4 separate regions of the Homo sapiens genome follow, and regions 1, 2 and 3 are each linked to region 4. Evidence: promoter capture Hi-C in 16 types of primary human blood cells and fetal thymus (Javierre and others, 2016). All regions are on one chromosome and are shown on one strand. Each heading gives the region's core, a stretch centred on a gene start or on the middle of the fragment in contact. The rest is flanking DNA. Distances are from core to core; before and after follow the strand shown. Region 1 overlaps TACC1 (transforming acidic coiled-coil containing protein 1). Region 2 holds the start of PLEKHA2 (pleckstrin homology domain containing A2). Region 3 overlaps ADAM9 (ADAM metallopeptidase domain 9). Region 4 holds the start of PLPBP (pyridoxal phosphate binding protein).

Evidence for each region. Contacts are between HindIII fragments. The CHiCAGO score rates a contact against its expected background, and 5 or more counts as called.
Region 1: a contact is called between a fragment that was not itself captured here and the fragment with the promoter of PLPBP in region 4, in 1 of 17 cell types (total CD8 T cells). The highest score is 5.3, in total CD8 T cells.
Region 2: a contact is called between the fragment with the promoter of PLEKHA2 here and the fragment with the promoter of PLPBP in region 4, in 8 of 17 cell types (naive CD8 T cells, non-activated CD4 T cells, total CD8 T cells and 5 more). The highest score is 10.2, in naive CD8 T cells.
Region 3: a fragment that was not itself captured here is called in contact with the fragment with the promoter of PLPBP in region 4 in 1 of 17 cell types (total CD8 T cells); the score reaches 5.3 in total CD8 T cells.

The regions. Positions count from the first base shown.
Region 1 is chr8:38,790,268-38,794,394 of GRCh38, reverse strand. All of the region lies in intron 2 of TACC1 (transforming acidic coiled-coil containing protein 1), which reads right to left. Among named protein-coding and RNA genes, the nearest start is that of TACC1, 5.1 kb to the right of the region's middle. RefSeq lists an enhancer at 130-424. The HindIII fragment of the contact is 1,142 bases long and covers 2,256-3,397 here.
Region 2 is chr8:38,898,486-38,902,771 of GRCh38, reverse strand. It overlaps PLEKHA2 (pleckstrin homology domain containing A2), which reads right to left and starts at 1,426. Exons shown (of 12, transcript NM_021623.2): 1 at 1,327-1,426. LOC124901937 (a long non-coding RNA gene) reads left to right here and starts at 1,327. Exons shown (of 2, transcript XR_007060893.1): 1 at 1,327-1,559; 2 at 2,076-3,522. RefSeq lists silencers at 755-1,424, 1,505-1,914 and enhancers at 2,515-2,764, 2,825-3,014. The HindIII fragment of the contact is 6,068 bases long and covers 1-4,286 here.
Region 3 is chr8:38,997,697-39,001,640 of GRCh38, reverse strand. All of the region lies in intron 1 of ADAM9 (ADAM metallopeptidase domain 9), which reads right to left. Among named protein-coding and RNA genes, the nearest start is that of ADAM9, 2.7 kb to the right of the region's middle. The HindIII fragment of the contact is 252 bases long and covers 1,898-2,149 here.
Region 4 is chr8:37,760,084-37,764,364 of GRCh38, reverse strand. It overlaps PLPBP (pyridoxal phosphate binding protein), which reads right to left and starts at 1,720. Exons shown (of 8, transcript NM_007198.4): 1 at 1,607-1,720. The coding sequence starts at 1,705. LOC124901934 (a long non-coding RNA gene) reads left to right here and starts at 1,101. Exons shown (of 2, transcript XR_007060889.1): 1 at 1,101-1,438; 2 at 1,552-4,281. RefSeq lists enhancers at 1,292-1,351, 1,660-1,954, 1,532-1,991, 2,092-2,171 and a silencer at 1,712-2,032. The HindIII fragment of the contact is 3,991 bases long and covers 1-2,337 here.

The sequences.
Region 1 (4,127 bases), core at 1,577-4,076, 1.0 Mb before region 4:
GAGGCCAAGGTGGGAGGATCACTTGAGCCCAGGAGTTCGAGACCAGCCTGGGCAACACAGTGAAACCCCATCACTATTTTTTTAAAAAAAATTTAAGAAAATAAAATGTTAAAAAAAATTTAATGGGCAAAAGTTAAAAGTCTATGTGTTTGTACTTCTATTAAATGATTCCAATATTCTCCCCATTCTTCCCTAATTTCCTTTTTAAATAATTTTTATTCCTCCTTAGATCTTTGAGTCAATTGAAAATCAAGTTCATTGCAGACCAATTACATCACTTCCCCTTTGCAAATATGACAAATAGCCAGGCCACATCAGGCTCTCCCCTGGGCCTTCCCTGAACATGCAGGCCTAGACTAATGGCACCTCACGCCCACAGTTCATTTGTTCAGCAGGTATAACCTTGCACCTTTTCATTCTTAAAGCCATTTTCCCAAATTACTTAAACTCTGTATTTTTACTGAAATTGTAATAAGTATAGATGTAGGTTGACATTTTTTTTCTGTACAAGATAGTAAATATGTTAGACTTTTGCCAGACATTTGGTCTCTGTTCCAAGTACTCAACCCAGCTATTGTAGAGCAAAAGCAGCCATAGACAATACATGAATGAATGAGTATGGCTGTATTCCAATAACTTTATTTATGGGGATGACAGTGGTGGTTCAAACCTGAAATCCCAGCATTTTGGGAGGCTGAGGTGGGAGGATCACTTACTTGAGCCCTGGAGCTCAAGATCAGCCTGGGCAACATAGCAAGACCCCATATCTACCAAAATATATATTTCATATATATATAACTTGATGGGCCCTGAAATTTTGTTTTGTTTTTTTTTAAGAACTACTTTATTGAGATATAATTCACAAACCATACAGTCCACCCTTTAAAATATATGATGCAATGGTTTTTAGTAAATTCACATAATCGTGTGACCATTGATGGGCCCTGAAATTTGGATTTCACATTATTTTCACACATCACCATTAAACCATCAAAAAATGTAAAACTCATTCTTCTGTTCAGGGCCATGCAAAAAAACAGGACAGGCAGGGCTTGGTCTATGAGTCACAGTTTGCTGATTCTGATCGAGACTACCAAAATTGTGTCAACAAACAACTTGGCATTCCCTCACAGGCCTGAGGCAGTAAATATCTGTGCACAGATCCCATTTATCTCTTTTCTTCTATTCTGGGGAAAAGTCCAGAGAACTACAGTTTGTGTTTGAAATACCTAGGCATTTAATTAACACATCAAACTGGAGAGGTTTAACGAGTTGTTCCAAGGGTGATGTGAGAGCTTCTACACTAATTAAGATTCTCTTTCTCAGAGAGAGGTAACAATCTGTAGATAAAGGTGTGTGTGTTTGGGGAAGGGGGGCTATGTTGGTGAAGGAGAAACTCAAGGGGCAGAGGGCACCCACTGCAGTTTTTGTGACTGAAACAGCTACACAAAGCCACAACCCCTAAGTCCTCCATAAACACACATGCAAACACAAAAGCCAGGCATGGTAGCTCACGCCTGTAATCCCAGGACTTTGGGAGGGTGAGGCAGGAGAATCCCTTTAGGCCAGGAGTTCGAGATCAGCCTAGGCAACATAGCAAGACCCTATCTCTACAAAAAATAAAAAAACTGGCCAGGCGTGGTGGCTCACGCCTGTAATCCCAGCACTTTGGGAGGCCAAGGCGGGCGGATCACGAGGTCAGGAGATCGAGACCATCCTGGCTAACACGGTGAAACCCCGTCTCTACTAAAAATACAAAAAATTAGCTGGGCGTAGTGGTGGGCGCCTGTGGTCCTAGCTACTTGGGAGGCTGAGGCAGAAGAATGGCGTGAACCCAGGAGGCGGAGCTTGCAGTGAGCCGAGATCGCACCACTGCATTTCAGCCAGGGCAACAGAGCGAGACTCTATCTCAAAAAACAAAACAAAACAAAAAATTAGCCAGGCATGGTAGTGTGTGCCTATAGTCCCAGCTACTCAGGAGGCTGAGGCAGGAGGATCATCTGAGCCCAGGAGTTGGAGGCTGCAGTAAGCTATGATCATACTACTGCACTCCAGTCTAGACATAGATCCTGTCTCAAAGCAAAACAAAACAGAGGATGAACTTGAGATTGTACCTCCTCAAAAGTCCATTCCTAGAGGATGTTTCTTCACCAATATATTTCCCAGCAAAGAGAAAGACCACCACAACAGCAGCAGCATTAAACAACTTTAGTGGGAGAAAACAGACAGATAGCAAATACAGACCAGCCCAAGCTTTACAGCTACCAGTCTGGTTATTTCCAGGAAATATCTTTAGCTAGAGTTTTATTTTACCAGTAAGCCTAAAACCTGCTTCTATATGTGGCTTCAAAAAAAATCTACAACCTTATCCGCCACTTAACTCCTGGCATACAACTCTTAGGAAGAGTCATTATAGAGTTTAGATACTGCAAGTTCCTAAAGCAGTTCCAGTATAAGAAAAGTCATTTCAAAATAGTCTTAGATGTTTCCCTGAGTTCAAAGAACTATACAGAAGTCAGCACAGGAGCCATGGGTATGGTAAATGTAGCCCACACGTTTGAGGGCCATTATGTACCAGGAAGCCAGAATGTTTACATATTTCAACTCCAACTCCTGACTAACTCCTCGTAAATCATTCTTCCAGAATGATTTAGTCTTATATAATTTATAACTGCGGTCCAACCATGTCTTGGAACCACAAAAGTATGAAAGACTATCTTTACCAGGAACAAAACAATCAATAATTTTGGGAGAAAGGGAACTTATCCAGTCCCAGAAATTAAACTTCAATATGAAATGACTCTGAAGGGCTTTCTGCCCACTGAAATCCTCTCCAGGCAGACCTGTGCTCTGGCTGTCTTTGCACATTTGCTGTGTATGTGTGACAAGGCCATTGGCGGTACTCTGGACTAGCTCCGGATGTTGCACCCAAGGACCCTGGAAGTCAGGGTACGACCAGGTTGATGAGCAATCATCCTATTGTTTAAAGACCCTAAACTGAAAGCCTTCATAATATGCAGGGTTGTTTCCTGGACTGGACACTCCTCTACCCCTACAATTACAGTCTGCATTCATGAACTACCCCATAGAGCCTTCATGATCCATAAACATTTAAAAGTTTTCCTTTTAGAGAGAATGAAAAAAATGTGAGAGTCACTGGTACAGGAAGGACCAAACAATTGGGTCTCTGTGGTTTTGGGGGCCTAGGTCATCCAGGCCTCTATTCAATTGGCAAAGAATCTGGCGGGATGAATCAGTCTAGCAGCTGACAAAACGATGAGGAAGGGCCGCCCAAGCTGATGGCAATTCAAAAAGGCTTTCAAACAGCTCCTTAACATGTGTCTTATGAGCTTTATTTAAATTTGATGGAAAGGCCACCAAATAGTTCTTTCAAGCTTCAAAATCTCCCTTCTGATCTGCCAATCTTTACGGAAGAAAAGGGAAGCTATGAGGAATAAGTGTTATCTTCATCACTGAGAGTGCTACACAGCTATGCGTCGCACACAAATTCTCCAGTATATAAGCTTGCCTATTCCCATGTTGTCCCTGCCTAGAACAATGGCAAAATGCAGCCTAGGGCAAGTTGAGGGTATTGCTGAATTCTCAGCTGGGTAAGCACAGCATGGAGCTATCAATTTAAAGCAAAACCAAATCAGCTTTTTGCTGATGTCATTTTACCAATAATTCCAGCTCCATCATGCAGTCTATTACCAGAGTAACTTGACTTCCCTAGGCAACCTACGAAGAAGTTGCTAAGCAATAAAAATACTTATTAGGGAGAGGAGAAAGTCACAATCAGCACAAAGTTTAGGTAGCTAGATAACTGAAAGCTGGCGCTGCCACTTCAGGGTGACAGTGCCAGATACTGGAACAGAGAAACCACATAAAAAGGACTTCCATCCTAGAGTCCCTTCTCCACACAGCAGCCCAGGGAGCCTTTTACAAAAGAAGCTGAATCACAATCCCTCTGTTCAAAGCTCTCTGTTGTGGGCTGAATTATGTCTCTCAAAATGATATGTTAAAGTCCCAACTCCTAGTACCTATGAATGTGACCTTATCTAGAAATAGTATCTCTGAAGATGTTACCAAGTTAAGATGAGGTCAAACTGGATTAGGGTGGGCCCTAA
Region 2 (4,286 bases), core at 177-2,676, 1.1 Mb before region 4:
CACTGCCTTGCATGTATAATACATGTCAACTGAATGCAACTGAAATAGAAAGCAAAAACTTCTATTCTTTCAAGATCTTTTGCTTTGCTGTTTCGGAAGGCTTCGCAACCAAAGAAAAAAAATGACAAAAGAAGGGAAAATGGGACTTGGTCAGATAGATTAAGAACACCATTAGTGCAATCTTGGGACTTCAGCCCCAAGTGCATCTACAGCTCAGCCTTCAGAGCCCCCAGAGCCACAGCTGGCTTTCTGGTGGGGTGCTCTCCCCTCCCTCTTCTCTGCCGTTTACTGTCCTCTGAAAACCCCACTTGGAGCCCTAAAGAAAGAAAGGGGGCGGGCAGGAAGAAGGAATGAGAAGGGGAAGATACATCCTGAACCTGCGTTCACCAAGAAGGAAGGAAGCCAAACCCTAAGGCTAGGGCCTGGGGGCAGGGCTGGCCCCGGGGAGGAGATGTGAGGGTGCTCCGGCCGCAGCGGGCCCTGCGCCCCTCTCTGGGCGTGCAGGGACACTTTTCCCTTCTAAACGGCCTAGCTTCCCACCACCCCCCCCCACACCCTTCTTTTCTCTTTCTTTTTAAAAAAATTTTGGTGAAATCGTCTTTAGGACTGGAGGAGAAAAGGGAAGCGTGTAAGGTGAGGAAGAAGTTGGTGAGAGAGAGAACGACAGCTCCCCTCGAGGGCTCACCCAACCTGGCACCGAACCTGCATTTTAGGGCAGTCCTTTTCACTGTCTGGAGTTCCAGAAGCCCGAAGTCCAGGCTGCACCCAGAGGAAAGGACAGGAGTCCCTAGGGGAGCCTTCTAGGCCTGTCATTTAATAAGGTAGTCGGGGGAGTGAAAGAGGAGTCTCCATGGCCCAATCCGTACCCAAGGGACTTGCCTGGGGACGTTCTCTGCTCTCCTCCCCTCCCGCAGCCCGGGCAGTCGTTGCGGGGTCGGTGCCCCAGCGCCAGAACCCGCAGAGAAGTTTCGCTGCTGCAAACGTGAGAAAATGCAGCTCAGCAGAACTCCCGCCCCCACCCTCTCCGCGGCCCCACCCCCCGCAGCCCGACCCCTGGCGGCGGCGACCTTGGCCACCCGGGGCACTTGGAGGAGGGGCTGCCCTCGGGGCTCTCCCAGAGGGTTGGAGGAGGCCTCCAGGGTCTGCGGCCACCTCCCCTCGCCTGTCAGCCACTAGGACCGGCGTATTCAGCCCTGCGCGCGCGCCCCTCGCGCCCCTAGGCCGCCAGGCCTCCGCCGGGGCGCCCCCTGCACCCCCAGCCCCGCCAGCCCCCGCGCGCCCCTCTGCGCCTCTCCACTCCCGAGCCCGCGAGGGCGCCCAACTTACCCCCCCGTGCAGGGGCCGGGGCTCGGGCGGGGCGCGTTACATCGGGCGGGGTCGCCCCTCCGGCCGCCGGGTCCGCCGCGCTCCAGGGATTTCTGGGTCTGCCTGCCAAACTCTCCGCGCCTCTCGCTCCCCTCGCTCTGGTCTCCCCCAGTGCCCCCTCCTTCTCTCCCGTCCCTCGGCTCTTTTTTCCGGGTTAATTACGTTTCGCATTAAAGCAAAACCCAGCCCCGGATGTGAGTACAATGCTCCGCGGAGCCCGCCGGGGAGGGAGAGGGGTGCCGGGGCGCCGCGGGCTGGGAGGGGGTGCGGCCGGGCGCCGGGGCCGCGCGGGGGAGGCGGGGGCGGGGCGCCCGGAGGCTGCGCCCGAGGCCGCCCGCGTTCCGCGCCTGGCAGGTGGGACCTGCGCGCCGAGACTGCCCCGCGGGGAGGCCCGGCCCCGACGCTCGCTCGGGCAGCAGGTGTCCGGGCAGGGGGCGTCCTCGCAGGAGGAGGCGAGCTGGAGCGCGAGCTCCCTCAAGAACCCCATTTCCTCCTCCCAGAGCCCCACCCAGCGACCTCAGCTGGGCCTCCTTCGGATCCCGAGCCCTTAGCCTTTGGGGACCGAGGAGTTGGGGTAAGGGTTAGGGTCCCAAGAAGAGTGGCTTCTTCAGGTTGTCCTAAATGTGCCCTAAGAGACCAGTGGGCGGGAACGCTCTAACCAGGGTTATAAGGACTTTAATTTCTTTATTTTATTTTATTTTTTAATCAAGACAGGGTCTGGCTCTGTCGCCCAGGCTGGAGTGCGGTGGCGCAGTCATAGCTCACTGCAGCCTCGACCTCCTGGGTCCAGCGATCCTTCTGCCCCAGCCTCCCGAGTAGCTGGGACCACAGGCGCCTACACCGTGCCCGTTGGGACTTTTTCGGTGTGATGCGAAGACTCCCTTCCTGCCCCCAGAGCATGAGGGTGCTCTGGGAAAAAATGGGAAACAGACAAGCATGTGTTACTACGTAAACCTCGCCAAGAGGAACTAAGAGAGCTGCTGTGCGCGGGTCCCGCCCCTGCGCTATCTCATTTGATCCACGCCGCAACCTATGGGTACCAGTCCGGTTCACGGTGAGGAAACCGAGACTCAGACTTGTGAAGTAATTTGCCCTGGGTACCCAGTTAGTAAACGGCAGGTCTGTCAGGTTCTGACTCCGGCCTCCCACGTCGGGAGAGAGACATTTGAATATGCATCAAGTCAGGTGGACAACATCCGAAACATGAAAATGTAGAAGATTCGCGCGGGCCTGCGGGGCCGTGCGCCGGTGTCTGGCGATCCTAATGCAAACGTTGTTAATCAGGTGTAAATCCTACGAGGCTTTGAAAGAGGCAGGCATAAGAAGACGCTGAGGTTCTCCAGGACAAGGACTGGATTTGCAGGAAGGAGGGAGAGGCTGGGGCACATTCCCGGTGTTAACAGAGGAAAGGCGGCCTCTTATGTCTCCACGACCGACCGGAGGCCACAAGGCCTGGGGAGGGGGGCTCGGGCCGATGAGCCAGGACCGAGGGAGAAGGACAGCCCGCCCCACACACCCCGAAAGCACCAGTGATGAAACCACACAAGTTTCCTCTTCCATTTTGATTGCCAAAGCAAAAATGAACACCGCCGGTGTCTCAGGTGTGAAAAAAGACTGTTTGCTTTAGAGCATTTTGCTTTCAATGAGGAAGAAAAGGGGGACGATGGGCAAAACACACACACACACACACACACACACACACACACACACACACACACACATTTCCCTTGAAATAAATACATCAATGTCTTTTTTTTCCCCGTTCATGGAGGGTTTTGCCACTCATCTGTAAGTTTCAGGCACCAGAACAAACTGAAGAGCATCTCCTCTGGAAGCAAGGAACCTGGATTTGAAGCCCAGCTCTGCCGTTTACTGGCTTTGACCCCTGGGCAAGTTACTTAACTTCTCAATGCCTCTGTTAGGAAAAGTCAGTGAGTTAACATTTGTGAAGTGTTGAGATTCCTGTCGAACGTGAAGTAGGTGCTACGTAAATGTTTTTTAAATTTAAAAATTAGATGATCATTTTCAGTATGAAAAGCAACACAATTCCATCCAGCTCCAAGCAAATCCGACTGGAACTGAGGGTTTCCAGCATGAGCAATGAGGTAAATTTCTCAGATTTCAGGGTATGGTTCATATTAAACTCATAAAACTCTACTCCCCGTGGGGCTGCCTGAGTCACTCCATCACAGAGCCACAAGTATTTCCTGAGCACTACTGTTTTGGATGCTGGGAGGCAAAGAGAAGCAGAAGGCCTTGGGTGGCAAGAGAATACAGGTGTCTCTAGAAGGCTGAAGCAGGCTTGTGCCCTGGGAATGGCACAGAGAGTAAGTGCTGTCAACTTTTAGAAGGACAAGATATAGCCAGGGGCAGTGGCTCACGACCTGTAATCCCAGCACTTTGGAAAACCAAGGCAGGAGGATCCCTTGAGTCCAGGAGTTCAAGACCAGCCTGGACAACTAGGGAAACTTCATCTCTACAAAAAATAAAAAATATTAAATTAGCCAGGTATGCACCTGTGGTCCCAGCTACTCTAAAGGTTGAAATGGGAGGGTCACTTGAACCCAGGATTTTGAGGCTGCAGTGAGCCATTATCATGCCACTGCATTCCAACCTGAGTGACAGAGTGAGAACCTGTCTCAGAAAAAAAATAAATAAAAAAGAGGGAAATGTGTCTCTGAATGGGGGATGGGGGGTGGGGGGGGACGGTGGGGGAGCTCAAGAAGGGAGTGGGCTTTGAAATGGGACTTAGATGGATACAGTTTGACACCAGTGGGAGGAGGCCAGGAACATGTTGGGCTGAGGGAAGGTCATCATCAGTGCACTCGGGGAGATGCTCATACTTCACTGGAGCCCCATTTACTGCTACACTTGTCCCTGGCCAGGACCTGGCCCCAGTTAGATGACAAATCCTGCACTAA
Region 3 (3,944 bases), core at 774-3,273, 1.2 Mb before region 4:
ACTGCTAGGTCTACACTCTTACTTTTTTTAGTGTTACACTTTTCTTAAATATTTACCCATCTTTACATTTAAAAAGAAATGGCTTCTGTTGTTTGTTTAAGTGTCCCTTTGGGAAAAACACCACCCATTTCTAAGATTTAATGCCCTAGACAATTTAAGTTCCTCCAGCAAAGAATTTAAGTTCTTTGAGATCAAGGACGGTATCTTATTCATCATGTACTTCCTGCACTGGTACAGTACGTATTCAATAAAATATGTGTTGAATAAATAACCTCTTCTGATGGTTACAGCTAAACAAACATAGTTCTGATAGTTGTAATTATCACATATGACTTAAAGTGAACCTTACTTTTTATGATTAACATCTTTTGTATCAACTTTTCTACAAATCTACATAGCCTACACATTTGTCATTTTGATAGCAAAATCGTATTTCATTGTATTGCTATCCACAGACTGCTTAATCACTTCTCTTAAGTGGCTGGGATGGGAGGTTAGGCCCAAGATATCTTCACAACAGGATTCTCAGCCTTTCAATAAGACTGATTAGAATCAGGCTCTCCTGGGGTCTACTCATATGAAGATTCTACACTACTAGAAGGAAGACGTTAAAATCATCCTAAAATGACTTAAATCATGAAAAATCTCATTAAAAGAACAATTCATCAAAGGGAACGTCCCATTCCCTTTGAGTTCTGCCCTACATTATAACATGTCTGGGGGTGATATCATTTTCTTTTCTTCCAGTAAGGTTTAGTAACACAATACTTACATTACCATAAACATAAATAAATACAAACAGAACTGCATATTTTAAAACGGACCAAGTTAATTTCTAAGGTTCCCTAGCTCACTCTTAAAAGATGTGATTTAAGGCCAGGTGTGGTGGTTCACACCTGTAATCCCAGCACTTTGGGAGGCTGATGCAGGAGGAACACTTGAGCCCAGGAGTTCGAGACCAGCCTGGGCAACAGAGCAAGATTGCCTCTCCACACACAAAAAAAGTTTTTAATTAGCCAAGCATGGTGACACACCCCTGCAGTCCCAGCTACTCAGGAGGCTTAGGCAGGAGGATTGCTTCAGCCCAGGAATTCGAGGTTACAGTGATCTATGACTGTTCCACTGCACTCCAGCCTGGGCAACAGAGCAAGACCCTGTCTCTCAGAAAGAAAAAAAAAAGATGTGACTCAAGCAGTGTCCCACATATGATCACTTAGGGAAAATAATCTGATTAAAATAACAACATGAAATGGAAAATAAACTACAATAATCTCTCAATATACAAACAACATTGTGCTACCCAACTTTAGTTGGGTCCACATTAGACCCATTCAAAGACTGTGAGAGAGGCTGGGGCGCGGTGGCTCATGCCTGTAGTCTCAGCGCTTTGGGAGGCTGAGGTGGGCGGATCACGAGGTCAGGAGGTCGAGACCATCCTGGCTAATACCGTGAAACTCCATCTCTACTAAAAATACAAAAAACTAGCCAGGCATAAGGCTGAGGCAGGAGAATTGCTTGAACTCGGGAGGTGAAGGTTGCAGTGGGCCGAGATCGTGCCACTGCACTCCAGCCTGGGCGACACAGCAAGACTCCATCTCAAAAAAAAAAAGACTGTGAGGGATTAGCTACTGAGATACAAAAGGACTGCATTCATTTATGAGGCAGTTCCATAGCGCTGACTCAAAAGGATGGCATGACTCCAAGCCTCCAGTATATGTTACATACCAAAAAGGAAAAAGAAATATGAGGCTATGTCATATGTTTGAGCTTGCGGATATTCCCAAGAAAAAGCTTCCAGTTACTTAGAGCTTGCATCTTTTGGGGGATTCCATAATAAATTCTATTATAAACCCAGATTTTTTACAAAGAGCAAATATAAATTTGGTAAGTTAAAGCTTCAAGTGCTTTTTGAAAACTGTCTTGGAAACCAGGAACTAGGTTTGTACATATTTTAATTATATATGCTTTCTTTTTTACTTAAAAGGTTGAAAACCAAATCATTCTTAAATGTAAAAGGCTACATTCTCCTATCGGCACAAACACAAACATATCAAATTCAAATATTTTGCTGGCATCTGAAAACGAGATTAGTATGGACCTAAGTTCTTACTACACAAATGATTTTACAGTGACTCACCATGAGTAAGCTTTCAAAGTCATTTTCTTTAGAATGCCAGTCTTTGTTTAAAAAAAAATTCTAAATCTGTTCCTCATAATTACTACCTTAGAAAATCAGAAGAGGTTTCATACCTGATTCCGCTTATTTTTTACAATGACACAGTTACCTTTGTCAGTTTAAAAAAAAAAAAAAAGTTTACTGAAAGTTAGCTGTTTGGAAATTATACTGCATTTCCTCATTGAGACAATGTTATAAAAGGTAGTAAAAATCCTATAAAACCTAATTAACTCCTAATGTAACTGACGTGTGCCTGGTACCTCAAATTCCTCTTTCGATCCTGGAAAATGTTTCAGTGCACGTTTTAAACACCTTATACTGCAAAAATGTGGTCAGCTGATTTTGTATGAACGTTCCCCGAGAGAAACAAGAGTTGACTCACTGCACACTATTACAAAAGCCTCTTAACCGGTGTCCCAGCCTCTAGTCTCTCCCTCCTAGATTCTATCCTCCACCGTGTTGCCCGTTTTCTTAACAGAAAATGAGATTAGGTCGCACCCCTACTTAAAACCTCCACTGCCCAAAGAACTTCCTACGGGGTGAAGTCCAAACCCCTTAGTTCAGCATAGAAGACTCTTCCCAACTGGTAACAACCTACCTTAGTTTGATCTTCCATCCCTCCCTTTTATAGTCTGCATGAAGACATATTGACATTTTTATCATTTCCTAAAAAGTCATGTTCTTTCATACGCCCCCCGCCCCACCATACTCTTGCAAAAACTTTCCTCTGCTTAGAATGTATCTACTATTCTACTTGAAAAATCACCGATGTAGCCCAGTTCAAATATTATTTTCTCTAAAAATCTTCCCCAACATCTCTCAGATGCGCTTAGCATATTTGGTCACCTTCTGCCCCTCTACAATCAACTGTGTGGTGTTTATAGGAGTTCCATAAACGGTGGCTAAACTTTGAAGGGGCATACACATGCCGAAGTGAGGAGCTGGCCAAAACCACAGTTAAAGACCATCAGGATATTCCACTCACCTAATGCAGGTCGGTAATGACTGACAATTTATATTAACATTTAAAAATACAGTCTTATTTACATTTACAAACACAAAAAAAAATCACAGATTAATAAAACTCCGGATGTATAATCGTCTTCACCTTAAACATCGGTGAGTGTTAACCATCTAGAATACCACCGGAAAAGTAGTTTTAACCAGAAGAAATTTGGCAACTTCCCATTCAAAACATTGTCAGAGTTTCAACATTTCCACACTGGGGCAAATTTACTTAATTTCAAATAAAGCAGCCAAAGATAAGAAAAACAAGTAATTAGTTTCCTGAAGGTCAACAGTCCTGCGTTGAAATCTTCTATCATCACCTTTGAATAACTTTCAATCAATGATTTAGTAAAAACTCCCATTCTCCATCATCCTCTGTCGCTGATAGAGAAAATACAGCCATGCAAACAATTATATCATACAAAATCCAAAATAAACAACTTGTTTCCAGAAAGACGCCAGCGTGCTGACAATCTGCTTCCACTATGTTTGGGCATCTCCAATACAAGTATCTTACATAGTCAAGGGCAGTTTCACAATTCAAAAACGATTTCACACAAATGATTTAATTCCTACAATAATCCTGTGAGTTCAAAAGAGCAGGGATTATCTGTCCGGATTTAACACAGTACGAACCCAATAAAAACACAGATTTTTTAAGAATGGTTTGGCTATAGAAAGGTAGCACATCGTTTACAAAATATTCTTACTACAAAAATGACCCAAGAGAAATGAGCGTCCTCCCACCCACCTTTATTCC
Region 4 (4,281 bases), core at 471-2,970:
GGGTGACAGAGTGAGACTCCGTCTCAAAATAAAACAAAAAACAACAGTCTGGCCAACATAATGAAACCCTGTCTCTACTAAAAATACACAAAAAATTAGCCAGGTGTGGTGGTGTGTGCCTGTAATCCCAGCTACTCAGGAGGCTGAGGCAGGAGAATTGCGTGAACCCGGGAGGTGGAGGTTGCGGTGAGCCAAGATCGTGCCACTGCACTCCAGCCTGGGCGACAGAACGAGACTCTGTCTCAAACAAAACAAAACAAAACAAAACAACACAACAAAAAAAAAAAAAAAAAGAAAGAAAAGAACCAGTGGCAGAACTAAGGCTGCGACACAAAAAATTCTGGATTCAGGATCAGACCTATGTGACATCCTCTCACGACCACTATACAAAGAGCGGGGGTTCTATGCGTTCTGCTGCCACCCAATCCACATAGAAACAGTAAGAGAAGAGATTCGTTTATCCTTGCACGATTTAGTCTTCTTGTATCCATCATCCCCTGAAGTTTTCACAGAATCACAGTGTTCTCAAGGACGTGACGGAGTCAGATCAATTAGAAAAATGTCTCCTCTTCCTTCCTTCCACAGCGATGCGTAACCAGCCTCGTTTGAGTCCAAGTCGTGACTACTGGGAGTATGCTGATGATTGACGCTTTCCAGAGAGTTACCCGAACAGGCAGCCCATCTGCCTGAGAGTTTCCCTGAGAGAACCTCCAAGGTGATGTTTATTAGGGGAAGCCCTAGATTTTTCTTGGAGAATCACCGAGAATCACAGAATATTAACATCAGAAGAGATCTCAGAGCTTTCAGAGCTGAGGGCCGGAATAGTTACCTGACTTGTTCAAGGTAACGTCTAAGGAATAGTCAAAGAAAGACTATAATACAGGTCTTGTCTTCAGCCAGCATAAATGCTCGATCAGAGAAACCTGTGACCTCTCTGTTAAGGTCCGTCTCATTCCACACCATTCAGCTTAAACTTGCACTGAGGTGGGCAGATTTTGATTCTTGGTCTAATCAAAGTCCAAGAGGATGTAATATATATATACACAAAAGACGAAAGCTCCCCTTAACCGGCTTGGGATTGGACTTCTCCCTCCTGCCCCATAAACAAGTGCCGCTCTGATGCCAGCGAAGTCCGGCCAGTCCACCCTCACCTCGGCCTCCGGGCGGCACTGGCATTTCTTGGGCACTTAGCAGGTGAGACGCTGCCACACACGCGATCTCGGGCGTCTCTGGCCTCCGCGGGGTGCTCTTGTACCCCCGTCTCCCCTTACCATCCGTGGGCACAGGCCTGGCCCCCCTCGCATCCGCCAAGGCTATCGACCCCGAAACGACGCGGTGCGCAAGTGGCCACGACACCTAGGCACTAAGTCATTTTCCCGAGGTAGCGGTACCCTCTGCTCCAACGAAGCCAATCTCCAGAAAACCTAACAGACTCAAGGTAAGGAGGCTGGGGAAACCCTTCGCTAGCCTTTCGGTGGCCCTAGGCGGCCGACCAGTCCCGCCTCTCTGGGAGACCCCTCTGCGTCACCGTGACGACCCATTCCCACGCAGGTGTCCCTCTTCTCAAGGCGGCCGCCCACCGTCCCCACGCAGCCTCCTTCCTCACCCGCGGCCGCCGCGCCACAGCCTGCTGCACGCGCTCGTTCACCGCCCGCAATGCGCACCCGACTCCCAGCTCGGCCGACATGCTGCCAGCTCTCCACATCCCCCGGGGACCGACGCCGAGCCCCAGGCCCCCGGCAGCCCGTGGCTCACACCATCTTCCGGTTCCGCCCAGCTTGCGCCGTGTGAACCAATCATTGCTCATCATTGAGTCGTCTCACCCAATCAACACCCGTGCAGCGTGGAGGCCCGCCCCCAGGCGGCGGCCATCTTGGGGAGGTCACCCGCGAACCTGGAAATGGAGCCTAGGGGCTGAGGTTTTGCGCGCCTGGTTCCAAGGGCCACTCCCCGTGTGCTCTCCTCTTTCCTGCGCCTCAGCCGCTGCCGTCCCCCCACCCCCAAGGGACTTTTGTGAGGCAGAAACGCATCCTATACTCGGGGGATCCTGTTTCCTTTCAAAACGCCTTTCCAGGCTTGCCCGTTCCCGGCTTTCTGGGCGCGGGGACCAGAATTAGAAGCCACTGGGGCGGGAGCCAGGGCTTTTCTCTGTCAGATGGTTCTTGCGAGGAACCCCTAAGCGATACGAAAGGAAACTCTTCTTTCTTCTTTTCCCTAAAGACATGGCGTGATTCAAACGTATCGTGATTTTTGTCATCTTTCAGACCACTGCTGTCCAAGAGAAATATAACGCCATCCAACTGTGTAATTTGGAAGTTTCTCATAGGCACATAAGCTTAAAAATTTTAATGATATACTTTATTTAATCCAATATATCCAAAGTAAGATTTCAACATGCAATCAATAGAAAAACTAAATGCGATATTTTAATTCTTTTGAAAATCGTATGTGTTTCTGAAACCCGGTGTAGTGTTGACTTGCATATGTCTCAATTCGGGCCATCCCTATTTCGAGAGGTTAGCGGCCACCTGCGGCCAGTGCTGTCTCATCAGGGGACACAGGCAGCATGATTATTACTATTATTATTATTGAGACAGTCTCGCTCTGTCACCCAGGCTGGAGTGCGGTGGCCCGATCTGGGCTCACTGCAACCTCCACCTCCCGGGTTCAAGCGATTCTCCTGCCTCAGCCTCCCCAGTAGCTGGGACTACAGGTGCGAGCCACCGCGCCCAGCCCACAGGCAGCTTTAGATGGTCTAGCAGGAGCTCAGCACATTCAGTTAGATTCTTTTTTTGAGATGGGGTCTCGCTATGTTGCCCAGATTATCTGGGACTCGTGGGCCCAAGCAATCCTCCCACCTCCGCCTCACAGAATAGCTGGGACTACAAACGGGCACCACAACGCCCTGAGTTTGATTCTTGAGTCCCCTTCTGTGGGCAATATGGTTATAAACTTGATGAGGAGCCAGGCCATACAAATAATAATACAGAATGCTACATAGTCAGGTGGTGAAATAGTAGGTGCTACGGGCAAGGAGAAGGAGATCAATTTTGTTAAGGAAAGCACTCTTGGCTGCAATTTCTGTTGAAAGTTTCTCAAACATTAATTCAACTTAATGAAGTGGGATGCTATTATATTAGAGAAATGGCTAATGTTTGTTCTTCAGGTGGTCTTGTCTTGAGGTGATGGGGTTTATTAGAGCTTTCCGGAAAGAAGGGGCAATATTCTTACTCTCTCCTCTCACAGTTTTTCCCCAGACTCCCAGGAACAGAGATGGAATTTCACATCTTCTGCTCTGGGAAAGTCACATTAGGCAGAACCTCAGATCCTTAAAATAAGGGACTTCTTTTTGGGAAGTCTCTGGTCATTTACCCTGGTACACATTAACTGGGTTATCTGCAAACTAGGACTGCCAACATTAGGAGTAATTGTGTTCAGATAAAATGTCTCTAGACTTGATACATCTGTACTCCAACCAAAATGATAAAAAAATTTAAAATGACCAGAATGGCCCTTTGTGGTGTGAGCATAATAGATGCTTGCTGTAGAGACACAGGTGGGAAGGAGCGAGCCAGCAGTGAGTGATGGGGAGGACAGAGGGGATCATGGTGATGGGATGTGTAGAGGAAGGATTGGGTGAGATGAAACACTTCAAATAATGTGCTATTTGGAAAACATTTTAAAACCATAAATACCTCACAGATCTAGGGAATGTATAATCCAGGTGTTACGTCACTATGACAACAAGTAGTTGTAGCTTCATTTACTAGATTGGGCCTCTATTCTTTTTTGTGTTTTTTGAGACGAAGTCTTGCTCTGTCACTCAAGCTGGAGTGCAGTGACGCGATCTCGGCTCACTGCAACCTCTGCCTCCTGGGTGCAAGTGATTCTCCTGCCTGAGCCTCCCGAGTAGCTGGGACTACAGGCGTGCATCACCACGCCCGCCTAATTTTTGTATTTTTAGTACAGATGGGGTTTCACTATGTTAGCCAGGTTGGTCTCGAACTCCTGACCTTGTGATCCACCCGCCTCGGCCTCCCAAAGTGCTGGGATTACAGTCGTGGGCCACCGTGCCCAGCCAGGGACCTCTATTCTTTGAACTACAAGGCAAGGTCATCCTCCCACCCCCTTATCCATTCAGTGAACATTTACTGAGGCGTTACTCTGTAAAGAACCCTGAGAGAGACCAGGCTGAGTAAGACAGGCTTTACTGCCGATTTACTTCCAATATGCTCGCTTTTCATCTCTGACATTCTGTGGTCTTATGAAAATGGAAATGGA